Linked DNA regions of Homo sapiens: regions 1, 2, 3, 5, 6 and 7 are each linked to region 4. The links are contacts of gene promoters, found by promoter capture Hi-C in blood cells and fetal thymus (Javierre and others, 2016). All regions are on one chromosome and are shown on one strand. The core of a region is centred on a gene start or on the middle of the fragment in contact, and the rest is flanking DNA. Distances in the headings are between cores, read along the strand shown. Region 1 has its middle 2.7 kb from the start of OR4K2. Region 2 overlaps LOC124903278 (a long non-coding RNA gene). Region 3 has its middle 4.5 kb from the start of OR11H6. Region 4 holds the start of OR4L1 (olfactory receptor family 4 subfamily L member 1). Region 5 overlaps LOC124903279 (a long non-coding RNA gene). Region 6 has its middle 14 kb from the start of OR4K2. Region 7 overlaps TTC5 (tetratricopeptide repeat domain 5).

Evidence for each region. The method cuts DNA at HindIII sites, captures the fragments that hold promoters and counts their contacts. A CHiCAGO score of 5 or more calls a contact.
Region 1: a fragment that was not itself captured here is called in contact with the fragment with the promoter of OR4L1 in region 4 in 8 of 17 cell types (naive CD4 T cells, total CD4 T cells, M2 macrophages and 5 more); the score reaches 9.0 in naive CD4 T cells.
Region 2: a contact is called between a fragment that was not itself captured here and the fragment with the promoter of OR4L1 in region 4, in 9 of 17 cell types (naive CD4 T cells, total CD4 T cells, non-activated CD4 T cells and 6 more). The highest score is 8.5, in naive CD4 T cells.
Region 3: a fragment that was not itself captured here is called in contact with the fragment with the promoter of OR4L1 in region 4 in 1 of 17 cell types (endothelial precursors); the score reaches 5.1 in endothelial precursors.
Region 5: a contact is called between a fragment that was not itself captured here and the fragment with the promoter of OR4L1 in region 4, in 4 of 17 cell types (M2 macrophages, M1 macrophages, erythroblasts and 1 more). The highest score is 9.6, in M2 macrophages.
Region 6: a contact is called between a fragment that was not itself captured here and the fragment with the promoter of OR4L1 in region 4, in 5 of 17 cell types (total CD4 T cells, naive CD8 T cells, non-activated CD4 T cells and 2 more). The highest score is 6.8, in total CD4 T cells.
Region 7: a fragment that was not itself captured here is called in contact with the fragment with the promoter of OR4L1 in region 4 in 4 of 17 cell types (M1 macrophages, M2 macrophages, M0 macrophages and 1 more); the score reaches 7.0 in M1 macrophages.

What each region holds. Positions count from the first base shown.
Region 1 is chr14:19,871,071-19,873,770 of GRCh38, forward strand. No RefSeq gene overlaps it. Among named protein-coding and RNA genes, the nearest start is that of OR4K2, 2.7 kb to the right of the region's middle. The HindIII fragment of the contact is 5,805 bases long and covers 1-2,700 here.
Region 2 is chr14:19,903,496-19,906,195 of GRCh38, forward strand. The region is part of intron 3 of LOC124903278 (a long non-coding RNA gene); the gene reads right to left. It also overlaps the pseudogene OR4K4P. Among named protein-coding and RNA genes, the nearest start is that of OR4K5, 16 kb to the right of the region's middle. The HindIII fragment of the contact is 5,016 bases long and covers 1-2,700 here.
Region 3 is chr14:20,226,860-20,229,559 of GRCh38, forward strand. It overlaps the pseudogene OR11H7. Among named protein-coding and RNA genes, the nearest start is that of OR11H6, 4.5 kb to the left of the region's middle. The HindIII fragment of the contact is 2,320 bases long and covers 152-2,471 here.
Region 4 is chr14:20,058,783-20,061,482 of GRCh38, forward strand. It overlaps OR4L1 (olfactory receptor family 4 subfamily L member 1), which reads left to right and starts at 1,263. Exons shown (of 1, transcript NM_001004717.1): 1 at 1,263-2,201. The coding sequence starts at 1,263. The coding sequence ends at 2,201. The HindIII fragment of the contact is 2,043 bases long and covers 1-1,818 here.
Region 5 is chr14:20,262,334-20,265,033 of GRCh38, forward strand. It overlaps LOC124903279 (a long non-coding RNA gene), which reads right to left. Exons shown (of 2, transcript XR_007064057.1): 1 at 1-2,700. Among named protein-coding and RNA genes, the nearest start is that of OR11H4, 24 kb to the left of the region's middle. The HindIII fragment of the contact is 1,434 bases long and covers 604-2,037 here.
Region 6 is chr14:19,887,327-19,890,026 of GRCh38, forward strand. No RefSeq gene overlaps it. Among named protein-coding and RNA genes, the nearest start is that of OR4K2, 14 kb to the left of the region's middle. The HindIII fragment of the contact is 2,598 bases long and covers 99-2,696 here.
Region 7 is chr14:20,291,531-20,294,230 of GRCh38, forward strand. It overlaps TTC5 (tetratricopeptide repeat domain 5), which reads right to left. Exons shown (of 10, transcript NM_138376.3): 9 at 453-597. Among named protein-coding and RNA genes, the nearest start is that of TTC5, 13 kb to the right of the region's middle. The HindIII fragment of the contact is 2,017 bases long and covers 396-2,412 here.

The sequences.
Region 1 (2,700 bases), core at 156-2,655, 190 kb before region 4:
TGATATGAAATAATTTTGTGAATTACATGGCAAGAAAAAGACCAGCTGCTGCTTGGGGAATAAACAAATGTTCAAGTTGCAGTGGGAGTTATTAAAACTTTCTAGTTGGTTTGGCCATATTTAAAGGTGAATTACAGAATGCATGATTGCTCGTAAATGTTTCATGTACAGGACATGGATGTGATTGGCTGGGAAAATATAAAGAATAACGCGTATCTTGGACCACAGCAAAGACAAGACAAATAGTATCTATTATTTGACTTATGAGACTACAAGTGTTATCTCCCAGTTCCTCCATTAACAAATGAGTATAAGGCCTGTGTATCCCCATTTGGAAAAAAACTGATACAGAAAATAATAAAATGAATGTTCGAGAATTTAAATTTTGTACTATTCACTTGAATCATTATGGAGTAATGGAAGAAAAAAGTGAAAAGTGAAAAAATTCTGGTTTATAAATTCTAACTATGTAAAGAATGTGAAGTAATCATCAAAATTTTAATATCTGCTAAAAATCAGAATAACAATCAATAAAATTTAAATGCCACCCATACTTAAATATTTCTCTATTAACAAGAAAGTTTTGACTATATTTCACAGAGCTTGTATTCATAAGATGAAAAGAAATAACTTGATGAAACTGCATTATATGCCTCTAGTGTAATATAAAGAACATTGAATCTCAGATTTGGAGGCCTGAGTTTACATCACAGTACAAGACTTTATTATATTATACTGAGTACATCACCACATTATCATAAATCTCAATCTCCTCATTTGCACTGAGAGATAAAAAAACAAAGCACTGGTATATCAGTACATAAAAAGCTATTAAATTAGACAATAAAAAGACCAAGAACCCTGCATAAAATGGGAAAAAAGCGCAAATAGCTATTTTCTATAGAAAAGATGCTCAAACTCTTTTTTATATGAACATATGTTGAAATTCATTGAGATACCACATATCAACTATCATATGGTAAATGTTTCTATCAGGCAGCAAAATTCTAGCAGCTTGAACACCTGCTCTAGATGACACTACAGTGAGGTAATGCCAGAAGGAATATAAAATAATAAAATCCCATGGAGGAACATTTAAATATATTAAATATACACATATATATTTAAATAGGTATATATATGTGTGTGTGTGTGTGTGTATATATATATAAATACACATATATATACCTATCTATATATATACACATATATATACCTATTTATATATATATACATATATATACCTATTTATATATATATACACATATATATACCTATTTATATATATATACACATATATATACCTATTTATATATATATACACATATATATACCTATTTATATATATATACACATATATATACCTATTTATATATATATACACATATATATACCTATTTATATATATATATACACATATATATACCTATTTATATATATATACACATATATATACCTATTTATATATATATATACACATATATATACCTATTTATATATATATACACATATATATACCTATTTATATATATATACACATATATATACCTATTTATATATATATACACATATATATACCTATTTATATATATATACACATATATATACCTATTTTTATATATATACACATATATATACCTATTTATATATATATATATATATATATATTTACCTCTAAGGAGAGGGAGATGATAGGGGACAATAGGATTGACATGTTGGAATGTCAGGGATAAAATCAAAACATCTCTGATTTTATCTACATTGTTAGTTTTGACTTAGGTTAAGAAATAGAGTTCAACTTAGAAAGCAGAGCTACCATGCACTGTAGGATAAGGCATTTACCATAGGAATTAGACCTTAAACAATTCTGGAAGGACTTAGGAAAGCAAAGACATGAAACAGGGAGCTGCAGAATCAGAGGCAGCAATAGCCAGTCAATCGAGAAACCAAGCCCATCTAGCCAATGAAGTAGAGGTCATGAAAGGAGCAAAATTTAGAAAATTTTGCTGGTAGAAAAATTTTTGTTCAGTTGCTGCTTCTGAGGATCTGCAGGCAGGCAGCCTGAGGCTTCTGTTGATCCTCCAATTCAGAAGTTGGGAAAAAGGTGGACGCAGAGTGAAGTGGCTGAGAACAAAACAAGCTAGAAGCTGTTGGCACCTCTGCATCTGTATAGCCACAAAGATCAGAGAGTAATGGCTGGTGCTTTGGGCTGCTTTTCAAATTCCAAACACATTTATTTTTAGACAACTCCAATACGGAAAGACGTGTAGAAAAGAATTCTGGGAACTGTAGTTCTCAGCTTAACCACTTTGACAATAGAAAGATGTAAGGTGCCACTCTCCGGTCTGTAGGAAAGACTCATGCACTTGCATTATTTACCTGGGAGCTCCGCTGGTACTGGAACTTTCAGAACGGATTTCCTAACATATCTTGTGCCTCACCTGGAGTGTATCAGATGGCTAGGGTCTGGCTGGTACTCCATATTTACATATAATATCTCATCATTCTGTATTCCTCCCGTGTGTGTGTGTGTGTGTGTGTGTGTGTGTGTGCGCGCGCGCGCGCGCGCACATGTGTGTCTATCTCTCAATGTTTCTTTGTATTTATTCTATTTATCCTAAGACCCTGATGAGTTAAAAAATAAAATATATAAACAGTGCTGGAGTCACGCATTGACTTTTAAAACTTCTGCTCATGTGT
Region 2 (2,700 bases), core at 115-2,614, 160 kb before region 4:
TATGTGAGGTAATGCCCGTGATAAATAGCTTGATTTAGCCATTATGCATTGTACACAAATATCAAAACATCATGTTGTACAATAAAAATATATAGAATTTTTATTTGTCAATTAAAAAATAAGTTCTTGAAATAAAAAAACACAAATAATCTAGTGCAGCTCCTTGTGAAATCAAAAATATGGCTCTTGGAAAAGCAAAAATAACAGAAGAATAAGAAAAAAGAAAAGATCAGTACTGATGAAAATTAAAGTTAAAAAGAGACTGTACAATTAATTATTATAGATCAGAAAAGTGTTCATAAATTTATATGTTTAGGAAGCTAAACAACTTAAATAATGTAAAAGCATAAGACAACATTCATTGACATGAATTTTTAATTTTTTCAGAAATCATACATTGTCAAATTTTCTAAGGAGGAGAAAATTCAAGCTGTAATCATCATGGATTACATTAAAAGAAGCTAAAAGTATCATCCTATAAAACTCACAAGCTCTCAAAGACTTGGAACCAACCCAAATGTCCATCAATGATAGACTGGATTAAGAAAATGTGGCACATATACACCATGGAATACTATGCAGCCATAATAAAGGATGAGTTCATGTCCTTTGTAGGGACATGGATGAAGCTGGAAACCATTATTCTCAGCAAACTATTGCAAGGACAAAAAACCAAACATCACATGTTCCCACTCATAGGTGGGAATTGAACGAGAACACTTGGACACAGGAAGGGGAACATCACACACGGAGGCCTGTTGTGAGGTGGGGGGAGGGGGGAGGGATAGCATTAGGAGATATACCTAATGTAAATGATGAGTTAATGGGTGCAGCACACCAACATGGCACATGTATACATATGTAACAAACTTGCACGTTGTGCACATGTACCCTAGAACTTAAAGTATAATAATAATAATTAAAAAAAACTCGCAAGCTACATTCATGTTTATGTACAATCTTTCCCAAACCATCAAAGTACAGATAATGCTAGGATATAGAAACACTTTTCTGAGCAACCCCACTAATTTTGTGAGCCTATCATTGTCTTACTACCAAAATAGGAAGTGGATAGCCCAACAAGTTAAAACTACTATAATTGTAAACCTATACGAAAAATCCTAAATAAATAATTAGCACATCAAACCAAAGTTATAATATTCTCATATAACACACCATAATTAAGTGGAGTGTATGCTAAGAATACAAATATGTTTCTATGGGATATCCTATCAATAATTTTTAACATTTAAAATTAAAACAGGAATTCATTTAACATTCGTATTGCAGTGCATCAGCTGTTCTTTGCTGAGTTTCTTCTCACTGATGTGTGGAATATCACTGAAGATTCAGTTCAATTCAATTCTTCGTATAGTGTCGCAGAAATCTCTCCATGTAAAACTCTTCCTAAATCTATTAGAAACATAGTGCGTGTAATTGGTTATAAGTAAGACAAGGGAAAGAGCTCTGGAGTTGAAAGAAAGTTGAAAGTGGTTTGGCTGTCTGGACTTGAACCCTTTTCCCTATTCAACAAGCCAGCAAATATTTAATGGCAAGGAATCATCATGGGACACATTCATACTCCCGTGGTTCCTGTTCAATCCCAAGTCCTAAATGAAATAGATAAATGATAAAATGGGAAAAGGGTGAAATAGAGTGTCAAGAAGAGGAGGTTTACCTAAGTCAATATTTATGATAGTTATAACACCTTAACTCTAAAGTATGTGCACATTTGGTGCAGGTCCCCTTCAAGAACATTTGATCTGAAAGAAGCCAAAACTTGTTTGAACTTTCTCAAAATCTGTAGATAATTGAATCAGGTAAGTCTTTTTTTAAAAAAAAATTTATGTCGACAACTTGCTTGATCCAATTGCTTGAGATTTTTTTTTTGGAAAATGGAAGTAAGACCTTTAACTAGAGAATGAAACTTGGAGCAATGGCTTATGATTCTTGGACTTACAGTTTTGTGCAAAGTCCTTTGACTCAACCACAAAATAATTATATCAATTTTAGTCCAGAGCATAAAATTTGAATTTGGGTATGATAGAAAATGACTTAAAGATCAATTTCTGTAATATTTGAGGGTTTTTTTGGTTCTATGGGTCTTTTTCTGAAATATTGAATAGAAAAGACTCTACAGAAGCATATTAACATCATTCTATACTCATCTCAGTTCAAACCAGCCCACTCTGACATCTAGACAAAAGTGGCATTCAGTAGAGGATATGGTGCCATTCTCTATGAGGATTTCTGGCATTTTTCAAATCTTCATTTTACGGCTATCATCACCTTATCTACTAATATTCTGTACTGACATGTGTACCATTTCAGTTTACATATTCTCATATAGTAAAATGTTAACTGCAAGGGAATTTACCTCAAACCCAAACCATTAACGTAACTTCAGAGACAATATGGATTAAGATTATCCATGATTTCCTTCATGAACCCAAGACTATCTCCTTTGAGGGCTGCATGGCCCAGATATTCTTGTTCCATGTCTTTGCTGGTGGTGAGATGGTGCTCCTTGTAGCCATGGCATATGACATATATGTAGCCATATGCAAACCTCTCCATTATGCAACCATCATGAACTTGTGCACATGTACAGGCCTAGTGGTAGGATCTTGGGTCACTGGAGTTATGCACTCCCTGAGCCAGTTAGCTTTCACTGTAAGTTTGCCCTTCTGTGGCCCAAAC
Region 3 (2,700 bases), core at 62-2,561, 170 kb after region 4:
TCAGTGAGAAACAAGCCACTAGACTCTTAGGGTACAAGAGAAGTGAAATAAGCCACTGGTGAAGCTCTGACACAGGACTTCCATATTGGAGCCAGTGAAGGAGAGAATCCGTGTGGCCTCCCTGCAGGCTTTCTCAGGGATGACCTAGGAAAGCTTCCTGGTATGTAGGAGAGGTATTCTTCGTTGAGCGTTGCTGCTGTTATACACGACAGATGGACTACTCACCTATACATTTCTTCATTCAACATGCTTCAGAGATTGAGTATCAAAGAATATTGGTCTATCTTTCAGCTCAAAAACCAAAAGAAAAAAAATCCCTCAGAGTGTTGAGATCACCATGCAATTCACACTTTCCAAAAGAAGTACACTAATCATCCACAGGTCTTCTCCTTCTCAGGAAGTGCCTGAGGCACCAGGAATGCTATGACGTTTGTAGAGATTTTGAGCTTAACAGTATGGAACTAGCTTTATCCACTGGGACTAAAACCAAAAGAAAATTGGAATTTTTTTTAATCTTCTCTCTGTTTTCCTCTCTCTGTCCCTTTCATTACTCACTTTGCACCTTCAGGAGAAGTGACATTTAAAAAAAAAGAAAAGATAAAAATAAAATCAATGTTTTTGTGGACTAAGAACTCACATAGATTTAGTGGTGAATATATTAGGAACTGTTTCTTACAAATATGTTGGAAATTATCTGTGAAATTTATTTACCATGCTTTCCCTGTGGCTAATTGTTTTTCTGCAAGGTTTTTGTTTGTTTGTTGTTTTTAATGTCAATGAAAGTAGTCTAAGCTCAAAGAAGCAGCTCGGTCTTGTGCATTTTGATTTTGGGTCAAAGTCTGTGAATCTGAGTTCAAAAACATTGTTGCTCCTTCTCTGTTCCAAGCATAAGTGGCTGCTCCCTGCATCACTGCTTTCTCATCTTGTTGAGGAGAGAGGTTTCTTGCTCGGAAAGGAGAATGTATAGAGGACCCATAGTGGGGAGCCATTCTTTTATGATATCTTACAAAAATGACCATCGATGCAGGTTTAGTTTAGTTCTTCATAATCATCCTAGTTTAAAAAATTAAAAATCACTGATCCCCATCTTGCAGTTTCTTTCTCTTTTTGGCTTCTTGTCCACCAAACCACAACCTTTTGCAAAACCAGCTCTATGAAAAGGTCTATGTTTCCTTCTAGATGGGTAGATTCATAGTTCACCTTGTGCATTACTAACTGCAACAGCTGCATGATCATAAATATATTTCTTATTTAATATAACCTCACTGAATAGGAGGGTTTTTTCTATTTGATTATGTTCAGTGAGTACTGTAAATATATATGCATACAGACAAACACACTATGTATATATGTGTGTGTGTACATATATGTATATACCACCTTGATCAAATACTATATATGTGCTACTTTAATTGAAAAAAATATAAGGCAAATTATCCTCTTAACAATCAAAAAAGTTAAAGGTATCTTGTTAAAATTTTTCTGAAGAGTCCCATATGTTAAAGCTATCATTTACTCTTTTCTTGGAGTTGTATTTGATTCTTGAAAATATATCTTCTTTGGTGATGGTGTTCTAAAGGAAACAAACCAACTCTCGGAAAATGGGTAAATAATTATGTTTGAAATAACACCTTTGATTCTCTTGTATCTTGTTTTTTTGAATATTTGGAGGCTATTATTTTACATGGACTAAAGAAAGATCTTACAAACAGTGAATTTTAGAGAAAATTCTGGCAAAAGTAATAAGAGGAGCTTTAGAAGAAAATATCCCAGTAACTGTAGTTATCTTCGCTATCTTATATGTTATCTTTAATGAAATATTTCTTTTTAAAGGTATATGGAGCATGATAAATTATAATGTGAAATTAATCACCAGGAAATGAATAATTATGACATTTTATTGCTAAAAGCAAATGATTAAATACCAAATTGTAAATAAGCTGTAGTACAATATAAATGTCTCTAAATAGGAAAAAGCAAAATATATAAAGAATTTTATTATCTAAATATCCTTGTTGACTTTCTCCTGGTATCACTAAAAAAATTGGAAGAAAATAAATACTCTTAACAGAAATAGCTCCGGAAAGAAAGAATCTGAAATAATGTCAAAAGTACAAACTACTCAAAGCTGTAAAAAGTCTCAGACTTGAATATATTAAAAATGATGGCATATGTCTTCATAATTTGAAGTGAACAGCAATAAGTAATTGCTATATATGAACATCTTTCACTGAAAAACAAATTAGATATAAAACAAACCATTTTTGCCTCTATTTCAAGAATTTCTTTATATCAAAAGAAGATGAAATGTTGATTTTTGTCCATTGCCACAGAAAATTCAAACAACCTGAAGTTTACAAGAATCAGACCCACAGGACTCATTTGAGAAAGATAAACCAGGTGTGCTTAAGAATTCTTTTAGAATATCCAATATATTCACCTGCAAGAGTCAAACTCCTTATCCCAAAAAAAGCTTCAAGATGCTTCATCAGCAAAGCAAATTGTCATTGACCATCGGTGTTCTCTCCACAGTCTGGGAAGCATGAATAACTCACAGATATCTACTGTGACGCAGTTTGTGTTGTTGGGGTTTCCTGGTCCCTGGAAAATTCAGATCATCTTTTTCTCAATGATTTTGTTGGTCTACATCTTCACTCTGACTGGGAATATGGCCATCATCTGTGCAGTGAGGTGGGACCA
Region 4 (2,700 bases), core at 13-2,512:
AGGATTTACTCTTGATGTTATACATGCTATGGGTTTTGACAAATGTGTTATGTATTTCTAAGTATAGTAGATAAGAATTGTTTCAATACCCTGCAAATTCTCCGTACTTCTCTTATTTCTTCATTTCTCCTTCTTCATTCAAACCCCTGGAAACCACTGAACGTTTAACTGTCTCCAGTTTTTTCTTAGTTTATTTCAAATAAAAGACATGCAACTTTTCCTTTTACTTGAACACTTAGAGGCTATTGCAAAGCTATTAATTGGCCTAAATCCAATATTGTTGTATCTCAAAGAATAGAGAGGCCTGAAGAGAAGGAGAGAGATGAGGGAAGAGTAGGTTGGTGGAGCCGTTAGAAACAACATTTATCAATTGTCTGCCATTCTACATGGGCACGGCTTGTGGTGCCCAAAAATAATGAAAATAGTAACATAAAAGATTACTGGTCACAGATCAAATAACGTGTAATAATAATAATAAAGTTTGAAATAAATATTTTGGGAATTACCAAAATGTGACACAGAGACATAAAGTGAGCACATGCTGTTGGAAAAATGGTGCCAATAGACTTGCTGGATCCAGGGTTGTCACAAACCCTCAGTTTATAAAACATTAAATAACTGCAAAGGACAATAAAGTGAAACACAATAAAAGAGGTATACATGTATATTAAAAAGAAAAATTATTTTAAATAAATTTATATACTTTCATCCATGTATAATTTGCTCCTGATTTGTGTGTGTGTGTGTGTGTGCTTTTTGTTTGTTTGTTTGCTTATTTAGTTTAGAACCATAGAAAAACCTTCATAAATTACTTCAGAGATGTAGAACAATGTAATTCTTCATTTTCTAAATCTTGTATTCCTTATATATTGGGATAACATAATCTCAAGAAGTGCAGGTACAGAATACTATAATAATAAAAGGCAAAATAAAAAGTAATTAATTAGTATCTAATCTTTATATGTGAACAAATGAGTAAGAAAGTCAAGATCCATTGATAAGAGTATGATTTTATGGAATAAACAATAGAAAATGGAACTTCTACTTCTTCAAATGATTTGTAATTACTGCAGAGTAATTGTTTCAAAGTGATATAATATTTAAGCTAATCTCTGTGTTGATATATTTAAAATTATATGATCTCATATCATCAACTATTATCACCAACTAATAGAAATAAGAAAATATTGGTGTTAACTGTGACTTATTTTTTAATTCTCTTTGTATATAAAGAACTTCTGGAACCTTTCTGAGTTGAGTAAATGGATCTTAAAAATGGATCTCTAGTGACCGAGTTTATTTTACTAGGATTTTTTGGACGATGGGAACTTCAAATTTTCTTCTTTGTGACATTTTCCCTGATCTACGGTGCTACTGTGATGGGAAACATTCTCATTATGGTCACAGTGACATGTAGGTCAACCCTTCATTCTCCCTTGTACTTTCTCCTTGGAAATCTCTCTTTTTTGGACATGTGTCTCTCCACTGCCACAACACCCAAGATGATCATAGATTTGCTCACTGACCACAAGACCATCTCTGTGTGGGGCTGCGTGACCCAGATGTTCTTCATGCACTTCTTTGGGGGTGCTGAGATGACTCTTCTGATAATCATGGCCTTTGACAGGTATGTAGCCATATGTAAACCCCTGCACTATAGGACAATCATGAGCCACAAGCTGCTAAAGGGGTTTGCGATACTTTCATGGATAATTGGTTTTTTACACTCCATAAGCCAGATAGTTTTAACAATGAACTTGCCTTTCTGTGGCCACAATGTCATAAACAACATATTTTGTGATCTTCCCCTTGTGATCAAGCTTGCTTGCATTGAAACATACACCCTGGAATTATTTGTCATTGCTGACAGCGGGCTGCTCTCTTTCACCTGTTTCATCCTCTTGCTTGTTTCTTACATTGTCATCCTGGTCAGTGTACCAAAAAAATCATCACATGGGCTCTCCAAGGCGCTGTCCACATTGTCTGCCCACATCATTGTGGTCACTCTGTTCTTTGGACCTTGTATTTTTATCTATGTTTGGCCATTCAGTAGTTTGGCAAGCAATAAAACTCTTGCCGTATTTTATACAGTTATCACACCCTTACTGAATCCGAGTATTTATACCCTGAGAAATAAGAAAATGCAAGAGGCCATAAGAAAATTACGGTTCCAATATGTTAGTTCTGCACAGAATTTCTAGATGTTAGCACTATATAATTAACTTTTAAATGCTACGATAAGATAGTTTGAATAGATTATGTATAATGCATCATTTCACTTTTCTTATGTTATAATAATAACGCATAAAGACAATACTAAATTACTTTAAATTTTACATTTAAGACTTTTATAAACATAAGGATAGAGATCTGCAGCAAAATAGACATAAAAATAGACATAAATAAACATAAAAAGATTATTGAGGATTTTTATCATATACATTCAATATATTCATTAATAAAGAAACAACTGTAAATGAATACATGAAGATATGAATATTATTAGAGGTTATTTTAATATATATTGATAATGTTATTCATAAATTTATACTATTATTAAATGAGGTATCATGAACAAGTCATGAATTAAATAATGTTAACAGAAAAAGCAATTCTAGTTTCTTGAATCAATGGAGGCAAAAAGTAAGAATGAGTCCACAAATTCAACAGCACAGTGACTATAAGATGCCAGAGAAAAAT
Region 5 (2,700 bases), core at 71-2,570, 200 kb after region 4:
AAGCAGTATGTGGACCAATATGTTGAGGCTCACATTCCTCAAATGATATGCTCTTTCATCTTCTCTTTTCTCCTATCATTTGCCTCCCCCACTGTGGACACATGAAACAGATACCTAATCTTTTCCCCTCTCTGCCACCATGAATAAAAAGATTCAAGCTGAACACAATAGTTGGCAAAGTCTAGAAGATGCTGGCATTATTAAAACTGTCTCTGCAAAGGCAATGCCCAAAGGAACCCCATTCTCCCAGGCCTAATCCAAAGGCAAAGTTGTTTTAACAGATTAGAAAAGAAAGTTGAAGGAGCAGAGTCACAACAGAACCTAGGTCCCTGAGTGCCAGTTTCGGGCTCTCTGCAGCAGCTCTGCCATGGTTGATTAGCAGGAGTTGGAGTCCCCTGAGAGCCAATTAGAGGAGGAAGTCAGGGTGGGGGAGGGAGGAGTGATTCCATCAACTCCCCATTAAAAGTGAGTGGATCCCACAGCACAGAGAGACAGTGACTCAAACTGTTGCATCAGCCAAAGTTCCAATACTAACTCCCTAAACGTGAGGAAGGGCAAAGGGAAGGAGGGAGGGAGGAAAGTGAGGTGTCTCACACTCTGGCAAGCTTCCACTTCCTATCTCAAGCGAATAGATCTCCTCATTAGCCATGAAGAAAACCCCAACACACTATGAGAGGAATTAGCCAGGGGGCTGCTGACACACAGCCAGGCTGCCAATTCAGAATCACTCTTGTCAAGTCAGATCCCATGTGACTCATTGTCTTTTGTGTAGAAAAGTAAAACTTTCATGACTACCCTCCCTCCATCTCAAACTTATAAAATAACTGATGATTTTCCAAACATGTTCACAAACACTACTTGATTGATTTCTACAAAATCACTGAGTTTTTCCAGGTTTGTGTAAGTATTTTCATCTAGGAATTTAAAGAAGTTAATAATGAAGTTCAAGAGATTTTCCTAAAATCACACAGGCAGTGTTATTTGTGTATTTTTAAGCAATATACCACTATGCTTATATAGATAGAATATCTCCGGAAGAAAACAATAAAATGGAGTCGTTACTCCAGTAAGGGAAGTAGAGGTCAGGCGTGAAAATGAAGTTTTTTCTCTGTATAGTTTTTAATAACTTTTCAATTTTACACCATTGTATATATAACTTCCTGAAATAAATGAAAAAGAAAGTTACAATTAGGGAGCAGAAAACTATAATCCAATTCTCTTTCCCGCTGTACAGCACCATCTCCTATGGGGGGGGCGGGTAAGGAGTAAGAACAGTTTTCCTTTTCCTGTATCTTCCCACATATGCCCTATTCCATCACCTCCCTATCCACTTATAGATGCAAAATTTTCTGTGAGCACTTTCCCATTGTTGCCTGCTCTATGCAAACCTGCCAGGAGCTGAGAGTGTGCTGAGAAAACCAACCAAGTCCTAGGAAAATTTAAAATGTGACTCTGATTTATACAGAGACTAATTCTAACAACATAATTTTCATTTGAAATTAAAAATAGCATTTTTGTCCAAATGTCTTCTGAGAATAGATAAACTAACACTTCAGCATAAAAGATCAAGATTAGAAAGAATGAAGGCAGTAAACTTGCCAGTAACAGGCACTGTGCTTCCCCAGTACTCAACAGGCTGATGGGTCACTGACAGACGAGGAGGAACAACCTGTCCTAGATATCATTAAAGGAGATTCTTGGCTTGATGGAGAGACAGGCTCCCACAAAAAGAAAAATGAGAGGATGTTATGGTCATGTATTACTAATAGTTTAGAGGAGAAAATTTGAAAATGTAAATGAAATGGATAAATTACTATAAAAATACAAAATATTAAAACTGACTCAAGAGAAAAATTGAATGATTCAAACCAATAAACATCAAAGAATTTAAATCAGTAGTTAACCTTTCTATTAACAAAATGTGCAGTACTGATGACTTTACAGGTAAATTCTACCAAAAAAAAAGAGAAGACAATTTCATATAAACTCTTCAAATAATCACACAGAGGAAACACTCTTTACTCATTGTATGAGGCAAGCTTACATTTGATACCAAAACCAAACTAGAATACACTAAGCAATAAAAACTAAACTAAAATCACTTGTCACCCACACACACATAAACCTAGTTAAATGAATACAGCAGTGTATAAGAATATATATAACCTAGGCCGGGTGCAGTGGCTCACGCCTGTAATTCCAGCACTTTGGGCAGCTGAGGAAGGTGAATCACTTGAGGTCAAGAGTTCAAGACCAGCCTGGGGCAACATGGCGTGAAACCCCATCTCTAGAAGAAACAAATAGATGCCATAAAAAATGATAAAGGGGATATCACCACCGATCCCACAGAAATACAAACTACCATCAGAGATTACTACAAACACTTCTACGCAAATAAACTAGAAAATCTAGAAGAAATGGATAAATTCCTCGACACATACACTCTCCCAAGACTAAACCAGGAAGAAGTCGAATCTCTGAATAGACCAATAAAAGGAGCTGAAATTGTGGCAATAATTAATAGTTTAACAACCAAAAAGAGTCCAGGACCAGATGGATTCACAGCCAAATTCTACCAGAGGTACAAGGAGGAACTGGTACAATTCCTTCTGAAACTATTCCAATCAACAGAAAAAGAGTGAATCCTCCCTAACTCATTTTATGAGGCCAGCATCATCCTGATACCAAAGCCGGGCAGAG
Region 6 (2,700 bases), core at 148-2,647, 170 kb before region 4:
GATATAAATCTCTGGTTAGAGGCATAATTTGTAAATATATTTTTCCCATTCTGTGGGTTGTCTGTTTATTCTGTTGATTATTTCTTTTGCTGTGCAGAAGCTTTTTAGTTTGTTTAAGTCCCATTTGCCTATTTTTGTCTTTATTGCAATTGCTTTTGGGTCTTCATCACAAACTCTTTGCTTAGGCCAATATTAAAAAGAGTTTTTCTAGGTTTTCTTCTAATATTTGTATAGTTTCAGGTCTTACATGTAGGTCTTTAATCCGTCTTGGGGTAATTTTTGTATATGGTGGGAGGTAGGGGTCTAGTTTTGTTCTTTCATATATGGCTAGCCAGTTTTCCAAGCACCATTTATTGAATATTTATTGATTAGAGTGTCCTTTCTCCATTGCTTGTCTTTGTTGACTTTACTAAAGAACAGCTGGTTACAGGTACGTGGCTTTGTTTTTGGGTTCTGTATTCTGTTCTATTGTCTATCTTTGTATCAGTACCACGCTTCTTTAGTTATTATATCCTCGTAGTATAATTTGAAGTCAGACAATGTAATACCTCCAAATTAGAACTTTTTGCTTAGGATTGCTTTGGCTCTTTGGGATTTTTTGTTTTTGTTTTTGTTTTTGTTTTTGGGTCCATATGAACTTTAGGACTTTTTTTTTCTAAATCTGTGAAAAATGACATTGGTAGTTTGATAGGAATTGCATTGAATATGTAGATTGCTTTGGTTGGATAATGAGGTCATTTTAATGATAGTTATTCTTCTAATTCATGAGCATGGAAAGTTTTTCCATTTTTTGTGGGTCATCTTCAATTTCTTTCATCAGTGTTTTGTAGTTCTCCTTGTAAAGATATTTCACCACCTTGATTAAGTGTATTTCTAGGTATTTTATTTTTGTGTGTGGCTATTGTAAATGTAATTGAGTTATTAATTTGGTTCTCAGCTTGAAGATTATTGGTGTATAGAAATGGTACTAGTTTTTGTACATTGATTTTGTATCCTGAGACTCTTCTGAAGTTGCTTATCAAGTCTAGGAATCTTCTAGAGGAGTCTTTAGGGTTTTCTAAGTATACAATCATGTTGTCAGCAAACAGAGACAATTTAACTTCCTCTTTTCCAATTTGAATGCCTTTATTTCTTTTTCTTCCCTGATAGCTCTGGAGAGGACTGCCAGTGCTATGTTGAATAAGAGTGTATGTTTATATGCATTAATTCCTTTCTTCTAGGTTTCTAGTTTGTGTGCATAGAGGTGTTCATAGTAGTCTCTTATTTTTTGTATTTCTTTGGTGTCAGTTGTAATGTCATTTTTATCATTTCTGATTGTACTTATTTGAATTTTCTCTTTTTTTCTTAGTCTAGCTAGTGGTCTGTCAATTTTGTTTATTCTTTCAAAGAAACAATTTTTTGTTGCATTGATTACACTGTGTTTTTTTGTCTCAATTTCACTTATTTCTGCTTGGATTTCAGGTATGTATTTTATTCTACTAACTTTGGGTTTGGTTTTTTATTGTTTTTTCTAGTTCCTTCAGGTGCAACATTATATTGTGAACTTTAGATATTTCCATCTTTTTGATGTAAGCATTTAACACTGTAAACTTTCCTTCTAGCACTGCCTTTGTTGTATCCCAGAGACTTTAGTATGTTGTGTTTCTATTTCATTTATTTTAAAGAATTTTTACAATTTCTGTCCTGATTTCGTTTTTTACCCAAAAGTTGTTCAGGAGCAAGTTTTTAGTTTCCATGTACTGGTGTAGTTTTGAGAGTATTTTTGGTATTAATTTCTAATTTTATTCCAGTGTGGTCCAGAAGGTACTGGATATAATCTCAGTTTTTAAAAATGTATTGAGACTTGCCTTATGCCTGAGCATATGCTTGATTTTGAAGGGTAGTCTTTGTGCAGATAAGAGAAATGTATATTCTGCAGTTGTTGGGTAAAATGTTCTGTAGATGTCTATTAGGTCCATTTGGTATATTTTTCAGTTTAAGTCCAGAGTTTCTTTGTTGATTCTCTTCTTCAATGATCTATTTAGTGATTTCAGTGAGGTATTAAAGTCCCCCACTATTATTATTATTATTTTATTATTATTATTATTTTGAGACAGAGTCTTCCTCTGTCACCCAGGCTGGAGTGCAATGGTGCGATCTTGGCTCACTGCAACCTTTGCCTCCTGGGTTCAAGTGATTTGTGTACCTCAGCCTCCTGAGTAGCTGGGATTACAGGTGCACACCACCATGCTCGGCTAGTTTTTTGTATTCTTAGTAGAGATGGGGTTTCACCATGTTGGCCAGGCTGGTCTTGAACCCCTGGCCTCAAGTGATCCACCCACCTCAGCTTCCTAAAGTTCTGGGATTACAGGCATGAGCCACTGCACCTAGCTCCCCACTATTATTTTATTTTATTTTTGAGACAGAGTCTTGCTTTGTTGCCCAGGCTGGAGTGTAGTGGAATGATCATGGCTCATTGCAGCCTTACCCTCCTGGGCTCAAACAATCCTCCCACCTCAGCCTCCCAAGTAGCCAGAACTATAGGCGTAACCACCATGCCCAGCTAATTTCTTTTTTTATGTGTAGAGGTGAGGTATTAGTTCATTCTTGCATTGCTATAAAGAAATATCTGATACTGTGTAATTTATCAAGAAAAGAGGTTTAATTGTCTCAAGATTCTGCAAGCTGTACAGACAGCATGATGCTGGCATCTGCTAAGCT
Region 7 (2,700 bases), core at 154-2,653, 230 kb after region 4:
AATTAAGTGTTAAATAAATGTTAACTATCATTACCATCTTCATCACCCCGTGTCTACTCAATGTGGTGAAATATGTAAAAACATAGGAAACATTCACAAACATTTGCATATAATATCCCACTCATGATTTAAAATATAGATATATGTGTATATATTTGTGAAAAGAAAAGACTTCAGGTATATACACCAAACTGTTAACAGTAACAGTTAAAAGGCAGTAATACCTGAGTGATAATATTTCACTGCATTTTTTTATTTTTCTGCTTACCAGTTTACCTTTTTAGTAAAAAAATACATATATATATATAAATAAAACATATACACACAAATATATATACACATAGCCTACACACATACTTACATATAATTATTTCTATATCTTTTATAAAAAGATAAGCTTGGTTCTACTTTTAGAGCCTACGAGTTGTAAGAGAATCCTAGCCATTGCTCACCTTTCCTTTGTGCTGAATTCGGTGAAGCCGCAGGTTGGGCTCAGGAATGGCTACAGAGTCTCCAATGAGCACTCCCCAGCTCTGCACTATATTGTACACCATCACTGCATAGCAAGGTCCATCTGAATCTACCAGGCCAAATGTACTACCAAGTAAAGACAGATTAGGAGAGAGGAAAACAAAAAGGTATGTGGGTAGGAAAGAAGAGCAGAAACAGTGGTTTAAAAATACTAGCAAAATACTGGACTTAAAGTCAGTGACAGGTAATTAAAATAAAATATAAAATTTAACTTAATTAAACTTTAAAAATAAAATACTAACAAAATAAACAAATGCTTTTTCTCAGTTACTCAGAAAACCTATGAGAGGTACCATCTTCCACTTTATATATCTGAGTCTTCATTTTTCTGAAACTCATCAGTCACTTTGCTAAGAACTTAGGACAAAGCACACTGAAGCCATTCAACAAATATTAATGATGAACTAGACCAACATGTTACAGTTGTAACATTATTCCTGGTCTATCAATTTAACTATCATACTCTTAACCAAAGCCTCTAACCATCACTGTCTGTGTAGTTTAACTCCACAAACTTTCACTGAATATTACATATGTGCCAAGCATTGTGTTTAGCAATAAGATACCAATCCAGCTATGAATGACCTATAGTCTAGCAGGAGTCAGACAATGAAGTCATCACTTACAGCACAGTGTGATGGGTGCTAGAATAGCTTTTCCCTTGTGCTGAATTCAATGAAGCCACAGATTGGGCTGTGGGAGCCCAGAGGACAAATATCTAAATCAAAATTGGAAAGCAGGGAAGATTTCCTGGAAGAGGTGACGCTCAAAGTGAATCTTAAAGGGTAAAAAACCAGCTGGGTTAAAAGAGAAAAATTAATCCTCGGTAAAAATGTTAAAAACCTCTGAGGGGATAGGAACAGAGATTTTGACTTGGAGGCAACATCAGGGAACTTCCCAGAATGGTGGTAATGATCTCTATTTGGGTTATACAGATATTTTCCATTTGTTAAAAGCTATGAAATGTACGCTTAAAATTGTACATTTCATTGTATGTAAATTTTACATAAAAAGAAAAAATTGAAACAAATACTGAACTCAGTTAATGACTGCATGCTAAAGTATGTAAAGTATATTGATCTCTGCAATTTACTCTGATAGCAGGATAAACAGACTGATATGTAATAAGCTAAGTAAAATAAAATATTAATGGTAGAATATAAGTGGATGAGAACACAAATGTTCAATGTAAAACTCTTTCAACTTAGCTATATGTTTGAAAATTTTTATACAAAATGTTGGGGGCAGAAGAGGATGTTAGCTATGTCAAGAAGAAGCTAGAGATTATCCAGGCAGAGTAACTGTATGTAAGACACAGAGGCATGAAAACAGCTGTTCTAAAACCAACAAAATTGTTCCATGGTTGAAACAAAAGGCACTGGTGGGAAAGAGACAAAAGATAATAGAAAGAGAAGCAGGGAGCAAATCATGAAGGACTTTGTATGCTAACCTAAGTAGTTCACACTTTATCCCAAAAGCTACATATAGTACCAGTAAGGGATCTTAAATAAGAAGTAGCAATGGTCAGATTTCCATCTAAGAAACATTTCTCTGGCAGCACTGTGGAACACTGGAGGAAACCAGAGAATCAGGGAGACCTATCTGGAGAAGTGATAAGGGGGTGAATTAAGGTGGTAAACACAGAGAAGTCAAGTCTATAGGACAAAAAAGGCAAATCTTTTTGGAGAATGGAGAAGCCTATTCTTCCAAAAGTCTTAATCAAGTGACTGAGAGGTGATACCATTCATTCACAAGGAATCCAGGGAGGAGAAGCAGGTTTACAGAGAAAGATTTAGGTGAGTAATACTGAAATACTGAGTTAGAGATTTCTTATTGGAACCCAGAAGCAGATGGTTATAGGAATCCAACACTTGGAAATGAAGCTTGGGCTGGAGATATATCTGTAAGCATATAGGAGGCTGCCAAAGCCTTGGGTTTATATGACATCACAGGGCAAGATGATCTATAGACAGGATGGAGAAGAATCACACTCATGCCATCACGTGACATGCCTGAATTCACAGGAAATATTGCAATCAAGCAAAGCACTCTCCTGATGAATCCAGTCAAAGCCTCAGAATCCTTCTACACAGTATGTCAGGCAACCACTGACAAGTGATCAAAGTTGGCAACTATAGGCCATCCTGATATAAAGAGAAAAAAGGAAAA